4 separate regions of the Homo sapiens genome follow, and regions 2, 3 and 4 are each linked to region 1. Evidence: promoter capture Hi-C in human tissues and cell types (Jung and others, 2019). All regions are on one chromosome and are shown on one strand. The core of a region is centred on a gene start or on the middle of the fragment in contact, and the rest is flanking DNA. Distances in the headings are between cores, read along the strand shown. Region 1 holds the start of LZIC (leucine zipper and CTNNBIP1 domain containing). Region 2 overlaps KIF1B (kinesin family member 1B). Region 3 overlaps CENPS-CORT (CENPS-CORT readthrough). Region 4 holds the start of PIK3CD (phosphatidylinositol-4,5-bisphosphate 3-kinase catalytic subunit delta).

The links. Contacts are between HindIII fragments. The study calls those that stand out against the background at their distance.
Region 2: a contact is called between a fragment that was not itself captured here and the fragment with the promoter of LZIC in region 1, in 2 of the 25 tissues and cell types used here (hippocampus and mesenchymal stem cells).
Region 3: a fragment that was not itself captured here is called in contact with the fragment with the promoter of LZIC in region 1 in 1 of the 25 tissues and cell types used here (aorta).
Region 4: a contact is called between the fragment with the promoter of PIK3CD here and the fragment with the promoter of LZIC in region 1, in 4 of the 25 tissues and cell types used here (IMR-90 fibroblasts, mesendoderm cells, neural progenitor cells and 1 more).

The regions. Positions count from the first base shown.
Region 1 is chr1:9,941,865-9,944,693 of GRCh38, forward strand. It overlaps LZIC (leucine zipper and CTNNBIP1 domain containing), which reads right to left and starts at 1,527. Exons shown (of 8, transcript NM_032368.5): 1 at 1,385-1,527; 2 at 760-918. It overlaps NMNAT1 (nicotinamide nucleotide adenylyltransferase 1), which reads left to right and starts at 1,611. Exons shown (of 5, transcript NM_022787.4): 1 at 1,611-1,651. RefSeq lists enhancers at 556-1,126, 660-1,859, 1,127-1,696. The HindIII fragment of the contact is 33,243 bases long and covers 1-2,829 here.
Region 2 is chr1:10,294,120-10,296,969 of GRCh38, forward strand. KIF1B (kinesin family member 1B) reads left to right here. Exons shown (of 49, transcript NM_001365951.3): 18 at 967-1,046; 19 at 1,541-1,647; 20 at 2,463-2,546; 21 at 2,778-2,850. Among named protein-coding and RNA genes, the nearest start is that of KIF1B, 85 kb to the left of the region's middle. The HindIII fragment of the contact is 6,454 bases long and covers 1-2,850 here.
Region 3 is chr1:10,451,721-10,454,519 of GRCh38, forward strand. CENPS-CORT (CENPS-CORT readthrough) reads left to right here. Exons shown (of 4, transcript NM_199006.3): 4 at 1-433. It overlaps CORT (cortistatin), which reads left to right. Exons shown (of 2, transcript NM_001302.5): 2 at 1-278. Among named protein-coding and RNA genes, the nearest start is that of CORT, 3.1 kb to the left of the region's middle. The HindIII fragment of the contact is 5,212 bases long and covers 1-2,799 here.
Region 4 is chr1:9,650,331-9,653,289 of GRCh38, forward strand. It overlaps PIK3CD (phosphatidylinositol-4,5-bisphosphate 3-kinase catalytic subunit delta), which reads left to right and starts at 1,401. Exons shown (of 24, transcript NM_005026.5): 1 at 1,401-1,472. It overlaps PIK3CD-AS1 (PIK3CD antisense RNA 1), which reads right to left. Exons shown (of 2, transcript NR_027045.1): 2 at 2,280-2,959. RefSeq lists a silencer at 1,314-2,203 and an enhancer at 2,384-2,453. The HindIII fragment of the contact is 15,008 bases long and covers 1-2,959 here.

The DNA.
Region 1 (2,829 bases), core at 277-2,776:
TGGTAGATGAATAATGAGAATTGATTGCTTCTTCTTTAGCATTCAAATCTTTTTTTTTAAAATTTTTTTTGAGACGGAGTCTCGCTCTGTCGTCCAGGATGGAGTGCAGTGGCGCGATCTCGGCTCACTGCAACCTCAGCCTCCTGGGTTCAAGCAATTCTCCTGCCTCAGCCTCTCCAGTAGCTGGGACTACAGGCATGCGTCACCACATCTGGCTAATTTTTGTATTTTTAGTAGAGATGGGGTTTCACCATGTTGTCCAGGCGAGTCTTGAACTCCTGACCTCTGGTGATCCACTTGCCTCAGTCTCCCAAAGTGATGGGATTACAGGCGTGAGTCACCGCGCCCAGCTCAAATCTTATTCTCTATTTAGCACTTATTTCTGCCTTTAATTATATATGATTTTATTATAATACGTTATCTCCTCTGACTAAACTCTGGAGAACAGAATATGAGTCTGATTCCTCTCTCAGCTTTCTCAGTACCTAATACAGAATAGAACGTCGATAATTTGGTCACGTATATAAAGGCTCAACATATTTTAAGGAGCTAAAGCTATTCTGAATACATTTCAGTAAAAATGGGTGCATTTTAAAAGCCTTAACCTGGTACTACATTAGTTGAGATTTATCCCCGAAAGATTAACTCGTTGGCACCACCTAGTAGTCACTAAATGTGGTGCACTTTTCACTTTTACGAAACTACAGAAACCGCTCTCAGACACTATATCTGGAGCGGAGGGTCCTCATTCATGCTCACCTGTCTCTTAGTACTCTGATCTCTGCACAGTGCCGACCGGTCTCAAATTGCACAAACCTCCAGTTCTTGACGTTCCGAGTGTCATAAACTTGAGGAAAATGAAATTATTCATCAGGACTACAAAAGGCTCAAAGTTCAAACCACCTCGGGGTGGAGATGCTGGAAAAAAGGAAACCATTAACAAGTAATTTTATTTGCTATATATAAACTTGCCCTAAGGCAGTCCAGATAACTTCCACTTGAGCAGCCTGAGACATCAAGGGCGGGGGCACTTTCCCCCTCGACTGCGCCTACCGCAGCCTTTCTGAGTTTCTTCCTAGCGAGGCCGAGAGGGTCTTTGAGGAAAATCCCGCATCCGGACACGCCTTGAGGGATGGCGTCAAACCCAGAGGCTTGGAAAAGGTAAGGGCGGAGAGCACGCCTCTTCCTTGAAAGTGAGGAGGGTTTGGCCCAGAACCAACAGGACTGGGTGAAGAATCAGCTCCGGCCACCGCAGCAAATCCCACCCCACGCGGGAACTTGAAGTCCGGCACGTAGGTCCCGCGGCGGCCGGGCTCCAACAGGCCCCAATTGCCACCAGAGGTAGCCGTAAACCCATGGTCCCCGAAACTCCTTCCGGGCCTACCTGACAAAAACTGGGACAACCTCCTTAGGCCCCCGGGATTCCCCCTGTGCCGCCTGACCGCCCGCCAGTCCCAGAGTTTAGGGCCAGGGGCCCCGCCTACCTGAGGGCACTGGCCTGGCGGACCGCGCCGGGGGAGCACTTCCGCTGGACGCACGCACTTCCGGCCCCCTGGAACCAATGAGAGTGCGACCGAGATGTTCCACTCGCTGGCGTCCGGGCCGCTGGTGATCTCCGGTAGCACTCGGGCCGGCGGACAGTGAGGGCGCGGTAAGCTCCCCGCAAGGAGCCCCTGAGAAACTGGTCGCTTTTTGTCCTAGATATAGGGGAGTCCAGGATGGTGTGGTGGAGTCTTTAGAGTCGAATATGACCCGAGGCAAGCTCATATTCAGGTTTGGGGCAAGGAGCTTTGATTGACCCTTAATTTTTTCAGTGGAACGGAAAACTTCGGTAAAATAGCTTCTGACCTTCGGAACAGATGGATTCACCTTGGAAAGGAAAAATCTCTTTCTAGAAGAGTCTTGAGGTCTGGCACCTTTAGGCTTAACGGGGGACGGCTGGGCGTCAGAGGAGGAAATCCTTCATTCCGAACGACTTCCCTTTCCTCCTAAATCCTTCTTTCCAAATCTGTAAAAGACTACATCTACTTTGCTGGAGGTGGTTTGACACTCATGCTCCTTGAGAAGGAGGTAATGAGCTGTAGGGCAGCTCTTAAAAAGTTACCCTTGGACGGGCGCGGTGGCTCACGCCTGTAATCCCAGCACTTTGGGAGGCCGAGGCAGGCGGATCACGAGGTCAGGAGTTCGAGACCAGCCTGGCCAACATAGTGAAACCCCGTCTCTACTAAAAATACAAAAAATTAGCTGGGCGTGGTGGTGGGCGCCTGTAATCTCAGCTACTCGGGAGGCTGAGGCAGGAGAATCGCTTGAATCCTGGAGGCGGAGGTTACAGTGAGCCGAGATCGCGCCATTGCACTCCAGCCGGGGCGACAGTTCGAGACTCCATCTCAAAAATAAAAATAAAAAAAAGTTACCCTTGGCTGTCGCGGTGTGACACCTGTAAACCCAGCACTTTGAGAGCCCGCGGTGGGAGGATCATTTGAGCCCAGGCTGGGCAACATAGCAAGACCCTCATAACAAAAAATTAAAAATAAAATTACCCAGAAACTGGTTGGAACTATTTAATGATGTTCTTAGTCCATCTTCCTGAAGTAGTCCACAGAACAACATCAGTGTTCATGGTAGAATTGTTTCATCAGGGCAGTTTTTTTTTAAGTAACAATGTCTTGTTAAAAAACAAGAGCTGTGTTGCCCAGGCTGGAGTGCAGTGGTGTGATCATAGCTCACTGCAGCCTTGAACTCCTGGGCTCAAGCGATCCTCTGGCCTTGGCCCCTCAAAGTGTTGTGGTGATTGGCACAAGCCACCGACAGGCCTGGAGTCTGAAGTTA
Region 2 (2,850 bases), core at 330-2,829, 350 kb after region 1:
TTCCACATTTGCTGGCACTCTCTTGAGTAGATTTTGGCCTCAAGACCATGTGACTTATTTTTGGATTCCAGTGGGTTATTTTCACTAAAGAAGGTTGGTTTTTTAAAAAGATTTTAGAAATATTAGAGTTAGATGAAGAGGATTGTTAGAAGATGTTTATCTTATCGAATATCAGTAATTTTACTTTTTTCTTTAAGGTAAAGACTAATAAATTAAAATCTTTTAAGGTAAAGACAAATTAATAACTGGGATCAGAAGAACTGATAAAAATTATAGTGGGAAGTGGTGGGGGGGTATGGGGACATTTTAATAAAAGTAAATATTTCTTGAGATTTTTACCCAGGCATTTACAAAAATTATAATTATTCCGTTCAGAGAATTGGCCTGTCATTTTTTCCTTGTGCTTTGACCTTATCAAAAATTAGGTCTTGTTTTTTTATCCCAGAACTCATGTTTTAAAATGGAATGCCAGGCACAGTGGCTCACTCCTATAGTCCCAACACTTTGGGAGGCCAAGGAGGGTGGGTCAGTTGAGGTCAGTAGTTCGAGACCAGCCTGGCCAACATGGTGAAACCCTGCCTCCACTAAAAATAGAAAAATTAGCCAGGCGTGGTGGCGAACACCTGTAATCCCAGCTACTTGAGAGGCTGAGGCAGGAGAATCACTTGAACCTGGAAGGCAGAGGTTGCAGTGAGTCAAAATCATGCCGCTGTACTCTAGACAGAGCGAGACTCTGTCTCAAATTAATTAATTAATTAAAATAAAATAGAATGCACTTGGTTCCGTTTGGTGAGGCCTGAAGAGAGTGTTTTCTCTTTATTATGGAACCGCAACTAGGGATAAAAAGAAATCCCTCTCTAGGCTCTGTGGAGAGTTGGAGAAGCCTGGCCTCTTGTAGGCCCCTGTTGTTACCACAGCTCTCTCATGGTGCCCTGCTCCAAATTGATCATCTGTAATCTTTTTCAGACCCCACATCTTGTTAACCTCAATGAAGACCCACTAATGTCTGAGTGCCTACTTTATTACATCAAAGATGGAATTACAAGGTATATTTATTTCCTGTTTTGGTCACTTCGTGTGTTTTCCCCCTCTTAGATAATTGAATAACTAAAGGGAAGGGGTTGAAAAAATTAACGTAATGATTTGCTGTATTTTTTGTCTGAAATAGTTACAAACTATGCTCTCTTTCCAAATAATGTGTTTTTGCCACTGGAGCCAGTTACTATGTAGTTTTTCTCTGAAGACCCTAAATAATTTTTTTTTCCTTTAACAAATATACATTCCTTAGGGATTTTATTTGACTCATGTCTTTATAATACTGTATGAGTTACATTGGTATATCAGTGCTCCTTGTTTCTTATTCTGATGTAGAGAGGTTGATCATATGTGAGGATAGAATTCATAGTTGAAAGCTTCTGATGCAACAAGGCAATACCTTTTTTGTACGTACCAAAGGATATTCTTTGGAATAAAGAGGTTCATTGTTTGTAGTGCTTTCTGTGTCTGAATTTCCCTGGGAAACACTTTCTCTTGTGTTCAGGGTTGGCCAAGCAGATGCTGAGCGGCGCCAGGACATAGTGCTGAGCGGGGCTCACATTAAAGAAGAGCATTGTATCTTCCGGAGTGAGAGAAGCAACAGCGGGGAAGGTGAGCATTCCTGGCTGGAGCTTCAGCAACAACATTTTCATTTTATATTATGAGAAATCCTTAAGACTTTGTATTCTCTGTCTATCAGTAGTACTTTCTTATACAATCTAATTCTGAAAAATGGAGAGACCTGGGCTGCTTATGAATGCAGAGATGGACAAGGCTGCTTTACATGAAAATAGCTTGGACAAAAGAAGCCCTTTTTTACTGCCAAGAACTGAGAAGGACATAGGCAATTAGGCTTGGTCTGGAATGTTAATTATTTAATAGAAAAGTAAGAAAATAGCAGATATCCTGGGTAATAGGAGATTTGAAGGACATTAAGTCAACCCAGCAGAATTTATTTTTATCTAAAAGGGAAGAAAAAGTCAGTCTTGATTTTTGCCTGGGTTATTAACAAAACAACAATTTAATGGTTTTTTTCTGTTATATAAGTCACTCATTCCCTTATCAAAATATTAGCTTCTCAGTCTTTAGTTTCTGGTTATTACCTATATCTCATCCTTACAATTTCTGATGGTTCTGAGTTTTATTGACTGAACCGTCAGAGATCCCTGAAACTAATATTTCCTATCATCTTCTTAGGTTTATCAAATAGAGTTAAATGTTCTTGTGTTAGCCATGGCCACAGATAGCCTCTTCTATTGGGGCTAGTTCTGGTACCCCAAAATGAACTACTGTATAGACAACTTCAGCCACTTGATTGATTGCAGGGATTTATTCTACTTACTGCAAATCCTGATAAGCAACTGCTTTCCATTATTTGATTCCAATAGTTTGTAATGATAACATTAGTTTGTGTTTGTTCCTCTTAGTTATCGTGACCTTAGAGCCCTGTGAGCGCTCAGAAACCTACGTAAATGGCAAGAGGGTGTCCCAGCCTGTTCAGCTGCGCTCAGGTGAGACTGGGAGAGGTTTGCCATCTTCAGCAATGTGCACATGGCTTCTGTGACAACTCTAATTTTTGGCTGTTTAAAGGCTGAAGTAATAGTCAGCATTAGGATTTTTGTTCTTGTAAAAACAACAGCTCTGAAAGCTGTCTTTTCACATTAGGGAGGGGTGAGGTTGTTAAATAGATACTATATATTAAAAAAATTATTTCTTAACCCTATTTTTCTGTTTTGTGCTAGGAAACCGTATCATCATGGGTAAAAACCATGTTTTCCGCTTTAACCACCCGGAACAAGCACGAGCTGAGCGAGA
Region 3 (2,799 bases), core at 57-2,556, 510 kb after region 1:
AATGCCCAATACTGACGTGTCTTGAGTAATTTGGAACCCAAAGTGAAGATCTTTGATAAAGATTTTTTTGTGGTTCGACTGGACTGTGCTGAGTGCGGGCACTGGGCTTTTCTTCTGATGTTCATTATGGTGCTGGGAAGCTCTGTCTTTGATTTAAAATAAAATAGCTAAAGGCTACACAATTAAGAGTTCAGAATAACATCTTATTTCAGTTTATGAATTGATATGAATTGTCTAATTTAAAAAATATTTCCCTCACATTAAAAGCAAATTTTTAATATCAGGCTCGAAGAGCAAAATGATTATTCCTCATGTTTTAGCTGAAATTAATTTTAAAACATATTAAACAGAAAACCTGCTGACATGCCTGTGAAACTGATACTCGAACTTGCTGTTATGTACCAGTTTTAATTAGTAGCTTAATGGGTTGCAATTCTTTTCATGGATTATAGCTTCAGATTTGCTTTGGGAGGAATGAAGGCTACCCACAGAATTTTTTTTTTTTTGAGACGGAGTCTAGCTGTCACCCAGGCTGGAGTGCTATGGCGCGGTCTCAGCTCACTGCAACTTCCGCCTCCCAGGTTCATGTGATTCTCCTGCCTCAGCCTCCTGAGTAGCTGGGACTACAGCATGCGCTTCCATGCCTGGCTAATTTTTTTTTTTTTTTTTTTAGATGGAGTTTCGCTTTTGTTGCCCAGGCTGGAGTGCTATGGCACGGTCTCAGCTCACTGTGGCTTCCGCCTCCGAGGTTCAAGTGACTCTCCTGCCTCAGCCTCCCAAGTAGCTGGGACTACAGGCACACACCACCACGCCTGGCTAATTTTTGTATTTTTAGTAGAGACGGGGTTTCTCCATGTTGGTCAGGCTGGTCTCGAACTCCTGGCTTCAGGTGATCCACCTGCCTTGGCCTCAGAAAGTGCTGGGATTACCAGCGTGAGCCACTGCGCCTGGCCATGAAGGTTTTTCGATGCTAAACTTCATTGGGAAAACCAGCAAAGGCTGGCTGGAGGACACGGGAATATTCTCTTCTCTGGACACCAGGGGAGCGGACTCCCTGAGAATGGCTGCTGACCGTCCGTTGTTTTCTGCCGAGCTGAGCTCATATTCATAATTACTAGCTGAATAAAGTATAATGTGATGGAAGAGACTTAATAGCATCCACGTTTCCAAACACAGCAGCTTTAGGAGACCAGGAATTGGGTCAGTGCACTGGTGGAAGATGCCTGCCTGAAAGGCCAGCTAACCTTCCAGAACTTTGTTTTTTTTAAAGATTTTTTCTAGAAAGAAGCCATGCTTATTGTTTTTCAGTTTTTAAATTGGGGTCGGCAGGGCGCGGTGGCTCATGCCTGTAATCCCAGCACTGTGGGAGGTTGAGGCAGGCAGATCACTTGAGGCCAGGAGTTCGAGACCAGCCTGGCCAACATGATGAAACCCTGTCTCGACTAAAAATACAAAAATTACCCAGGCGTGATGGTGCACCCCTGTAATCCCAGCTACTTGGGAGGCTGAGGCACGAGAATCACTTGAGCCTGGGAGGCGGAAGTTGTAGTGAGCCGAGGTCATGCCACTGTACTCCAGCCTGGGTGACAGAACGAGACTCTGTCTCAAAAATAATAGTAAAATAAGATAAAATAGGGGCTGGGCGTGGTGGCTCACACCTGTAATCCCAGCACCTTGGGAGGCCGAGCTGGGTGGATCACCTGAGGTCGGGTGTTCAAGACCAGCCTGATCAACGTGGTGAAACCCTGTCTCTACTAAAAACACCAAAAATTAGCCGGGCTTGGTGGCACATACCTGTAATCCCAGCTACTCAGGAGGCTGAGGCAGGAGAATCACCTTAACCCGGGAGGCAGAGATTGCAGTGAGCCAAGATTGTGCCACTGCACTCCAGCCTGGGCGACAGAGTGAGACTCCGTCTCAAAAAATAAAATACATTGGGGTCATCCACACAGACTTTAAGATTGGGGATTTTACCTTTTAACTAAGTAGTTATCTGTAGGATAATGAGGCTCTACTAGTGCTACTGCCAGGAAATTCAAGTCTAAGCCTACCTTAGTTCAGGGGACTTCATACGACATTAACTGGCATCAGCTGCATGTTAGACCAGATGAATATGCTTGTGATTAATAAATCAGGGTAAAATGGTCATTTCCCACCATCTGGTTTTTGGTGGCCTTTTCTGTAGTTCAGTAGAGTCAGGTGTGTAGATCTGGGTAATCAGGCCCTGGGCAACTTCAAGTTCATGCTCTTGTTATTTTGTCCAGGATTTGGCACCAGAACAGCTCCCTAACTGCTGAGGAGGAATGAAGGACAACAGACACTCACAGCTTTCCTATTTCAGGGCTGGCAGCAAAGGATTCCAGGCTTTAGGAAACTCCTCAGACTGGGAAGCTCAGGGGAGATACTTACCTTGATGTAAGCAGCACCTGTTGAAGGGCAGCCCGTCTTTTTTTTTTTTTTTTTTTTTTTGAGACAGAGTCTCCCTCTGCCACCCAGGCTGGAGTGCAGTGAAGTGATCTTGGCTCACTGTAAGCTCCACCTCCCGGGCTCAGGTCATTCTTCTGTCTCAGCCTCCCGAGTAGCTGGGACTACAGGCACCCGCCACCACACCCAGCTAATTTTTTCTATTTTTTTGTAGAGATGGGGTTTCACCGTGTTAGCCAGGATGGTCTCGATCTCCTGACCTTGTGATCCACCCACCTCAGCCTCCCAAAGTGCTGGGATTACAGGTATGAACCACCGCGCCTGGCCAGGGGCAGCCCATCTTAAAAACAGTAGCGTTTTCCATAGAGAGAGAGG
Region 4 (2,959 bases), core at 151-2,650, 290 kb before region 1:
AGAATTGCTTGAACCCAGGAGGCTGAGGCTGTGGTGAGCCAAGATCACGCCACTGCACTCCAGCCTGGGCAACAGAACAAGATTCCTCAAAATAAACAAAACAAAGAAACAAAACAACAAAAAACAAACAAAAAAACATGAAAATCAGCTGGGTGTCGTGGCGTGTGCCTGTAATCCCAGCTACTTGGGAGGCTGAGGTAGGAGAATTGCTTGAACCCAGGATGCAGAGATTGCAGTGAGCCGAGATGGCACCACTGCATTCCAGCCTGGACAACAGAGCAAGACTGTCTCAAAAAAAAGAAAAGAAAAAAGAAAAAGAAAGAAAAGAAAAGAAAAAAAGGAATAGAGGCTTGGGATCCTGGGGAGGTGGTACACAAGTTAAGGGAGAGTGAGGGGAGAGAGGGTAAGGTGAATGAAGCTTGTCTTCTTATGCGGATAAAATTTCTCAGGTAAGAAAAGTTAGCTCTGAGCAGCCCTCCGCCTGATACTAATACTTTACCAATGGAGATTTTCCTTTTCTTTTCTGTTTTTGAGACAGGGTCTCACTTTGTTTCCCAGGCTGGAGTGCAGTGGTGCCATCATGGATCACTGCAGCCTCCATTTCCCTGGCTCAAGCCATCCTCCCACCTCAGCCTCCCGAGTAGCTGGGACTACAAGGTGTGCACCACCACGACTGGCTAATTTTTAATTTTTTTGTAGAGACGGGGGTTTCCCTATGTTGCCCAGGCTGGCTTGAATTCCTGGGCTCAAGTGATCCTCCCGCCTCGGCCTCCCAAATTGCTGGGATTGCAGGAGTGAGCCACAGTGCCAGGCCTGGAGATTTTCTTTATAGATAGAAATCATTTTACAAAAGGACAGCTTTTCAGATCTACTCCTGTGCCTGCAGTTTCTAAGAATAATCCCTTCAAAATATGGCGAAGAAGTATATTTTGGGGTGGCACACGCTGGTCTCCCATAGTCACATTTTGGGTGTGTGTCCTGAGCCCCAACACTGGTCACCTCGCAATGGCGCTTGGGGTCCCTGGGTGCCTAGAGCTGCAGGTTACCCCCTCTTCTTCTCCTGCTCTCAGCCTTTCTCCCGCTCCTGCTGAAATTCTTTCCTGCGTGAAGGCGGAGCGCTTAAAGGCGCCTAGGACCTTTATTTCGTTGTTTTCCTTTGCATAAAAAGAAAACTTGTTTTGTAGAAGGGCAAGCAAGGTGCAGCTTCCAGAGGCACCTGGGATGATGCCCCTCTAGCGGTAGGCGAACTGGGGAGTGTGGGCGGCGGGGGAAGGCGAGGCCCTGGAGGACCTGTTGTTTTTCCTGTTGCAAGTGAAAAGGAAACAAAGTGGGAAGTGGAGTGTGCGGGTTGGCGGCAGGCGGGGCGCCCCGGCGCGCCCCGCCTCCCTCCCTCGAGGCTCACTCGCGCCCAGCGCAGTCGCTCCGAGCGGCCGCGAGCAGAGCCGCCCAGCCCTGCCAGCTGCGCCGGGACGGTAAGCGATCGCCGCTGGCTGCGTCAGGGGAGGTGGGAAGAGGACCGCGGCCAGGGGCTTTGGGAGCTGCGGCTGCGCTCGGGGGCGCGGGGCTGGCTGGCGGGCGTCTCTCCGGCACACACAGCCCGTGCGCCCTGGCCCTGGGCGCCTCCCCGAGTCTAGCGAGCCGGGTCCTGGGAGCCCCGGGGGCCGGGCTGCTGGGACCTGGGCGGGGGCTGCCCTAGAGGCCCGGGGCCGTCCCCCGTGGGCCCGCCGAGAGGGGCGTGCGCAGCTCCCCGGCGCCTGCACTGCGCGCCTTGCCCGCCTGGCCCGGCAGCGGGGTTTCAGCTGCGCTCACAGCGGCGGTGCGGCCTCCGGTGCGCCGGCTGAGGCGCGAGGATACTGGAAGCGCTCAGCGCGTGCGCCCGCTCCGAGCGCTGACTAGAGGACCAGGGGCCTCCTCTGTACGGCAGCGGGGTCCACAGAGAGCGCGCTGGTGATGTCGCCCGAGTGCCCTGGCGCGGAGAGAGGGCTGCGCACAGTTCGCCGGCGCCCGGGTCCTGTGCGCCCTTCCCAGCCTGGGCAAGTGGGGAGCGGGGCTGCAGAGGGGCCGGGGTGGAAGTTTTCGGGGCTTCCTCCCGGCTCGTGGACCCGCGCCCCGCCTCCCAGTCCCGGGCCTCCCGCGTTGCTCGCCGCGTTTGCTGCAGCGGCGCAGGCGAGATCAGCTCCGGATCTGCGGCCGAGCCGGGGTTACGCCGGCAAAACCGCCCCCAGCTTTGCATTTCCGGACTTTTTAAAAAAATACTCTTACCCGTAATTCAGCCTGAATGAGGCTTTTTAAAAAAATCGAGTTTCCTGTTTTTATTTAGGCTTCCTCATTTGCACCTCCTCCTTTGAGGTAGAGAAGAGGGGAACTGGGACGACCTTTCGTGGGCACCAGGATGGGGGCGTTGCAGGGCGGGGAGACGGGGGTCCAGAGAACCGGGGAAGGGCCGCTGGGAGGTCCCGAAAAGTGCGCTGTGGGTGGGGCGAGGGTGAAGCAGGTAGGGGCGAGATTTCCGGGGTCGCGGGTGGGGGGCGCCCTGGAGCGGCCAAGGTGCAGGGTCCTCGCGTGGCACCCTTGGGATCTGCCCAGTTTGCGGATGGAGCGCGGGGCTGATCGGGCAGGTCTCACTTGTGCAGGTGTTCCCTGGAAGGTGGGACCTGCAGATCTTGAACCCCACCAGACTCCATCAAGGGGGCTTCTTCCCGCCGATTCCTGAGAAGTCCTACCTCTGAGATGCTGGGCACAGCCGCACGTGGATGTGGGCGGGTGTGCCGTGGGTTGGAGTGGGAAGGGGCAATTATTCCTCTCTCAGGGCTCTCGGAGGGGAAGGTTTACTGCTCCCTAGGGACTTTGAAACCAAGGGCTAACCCCCTGCTCTCTTCCAGGAGAGTGGGATACCGCCCGGGTGCCTGACGGTGCCTTGGTGTTCTTGACAATTGAATGGTACCATCGGGACATTACT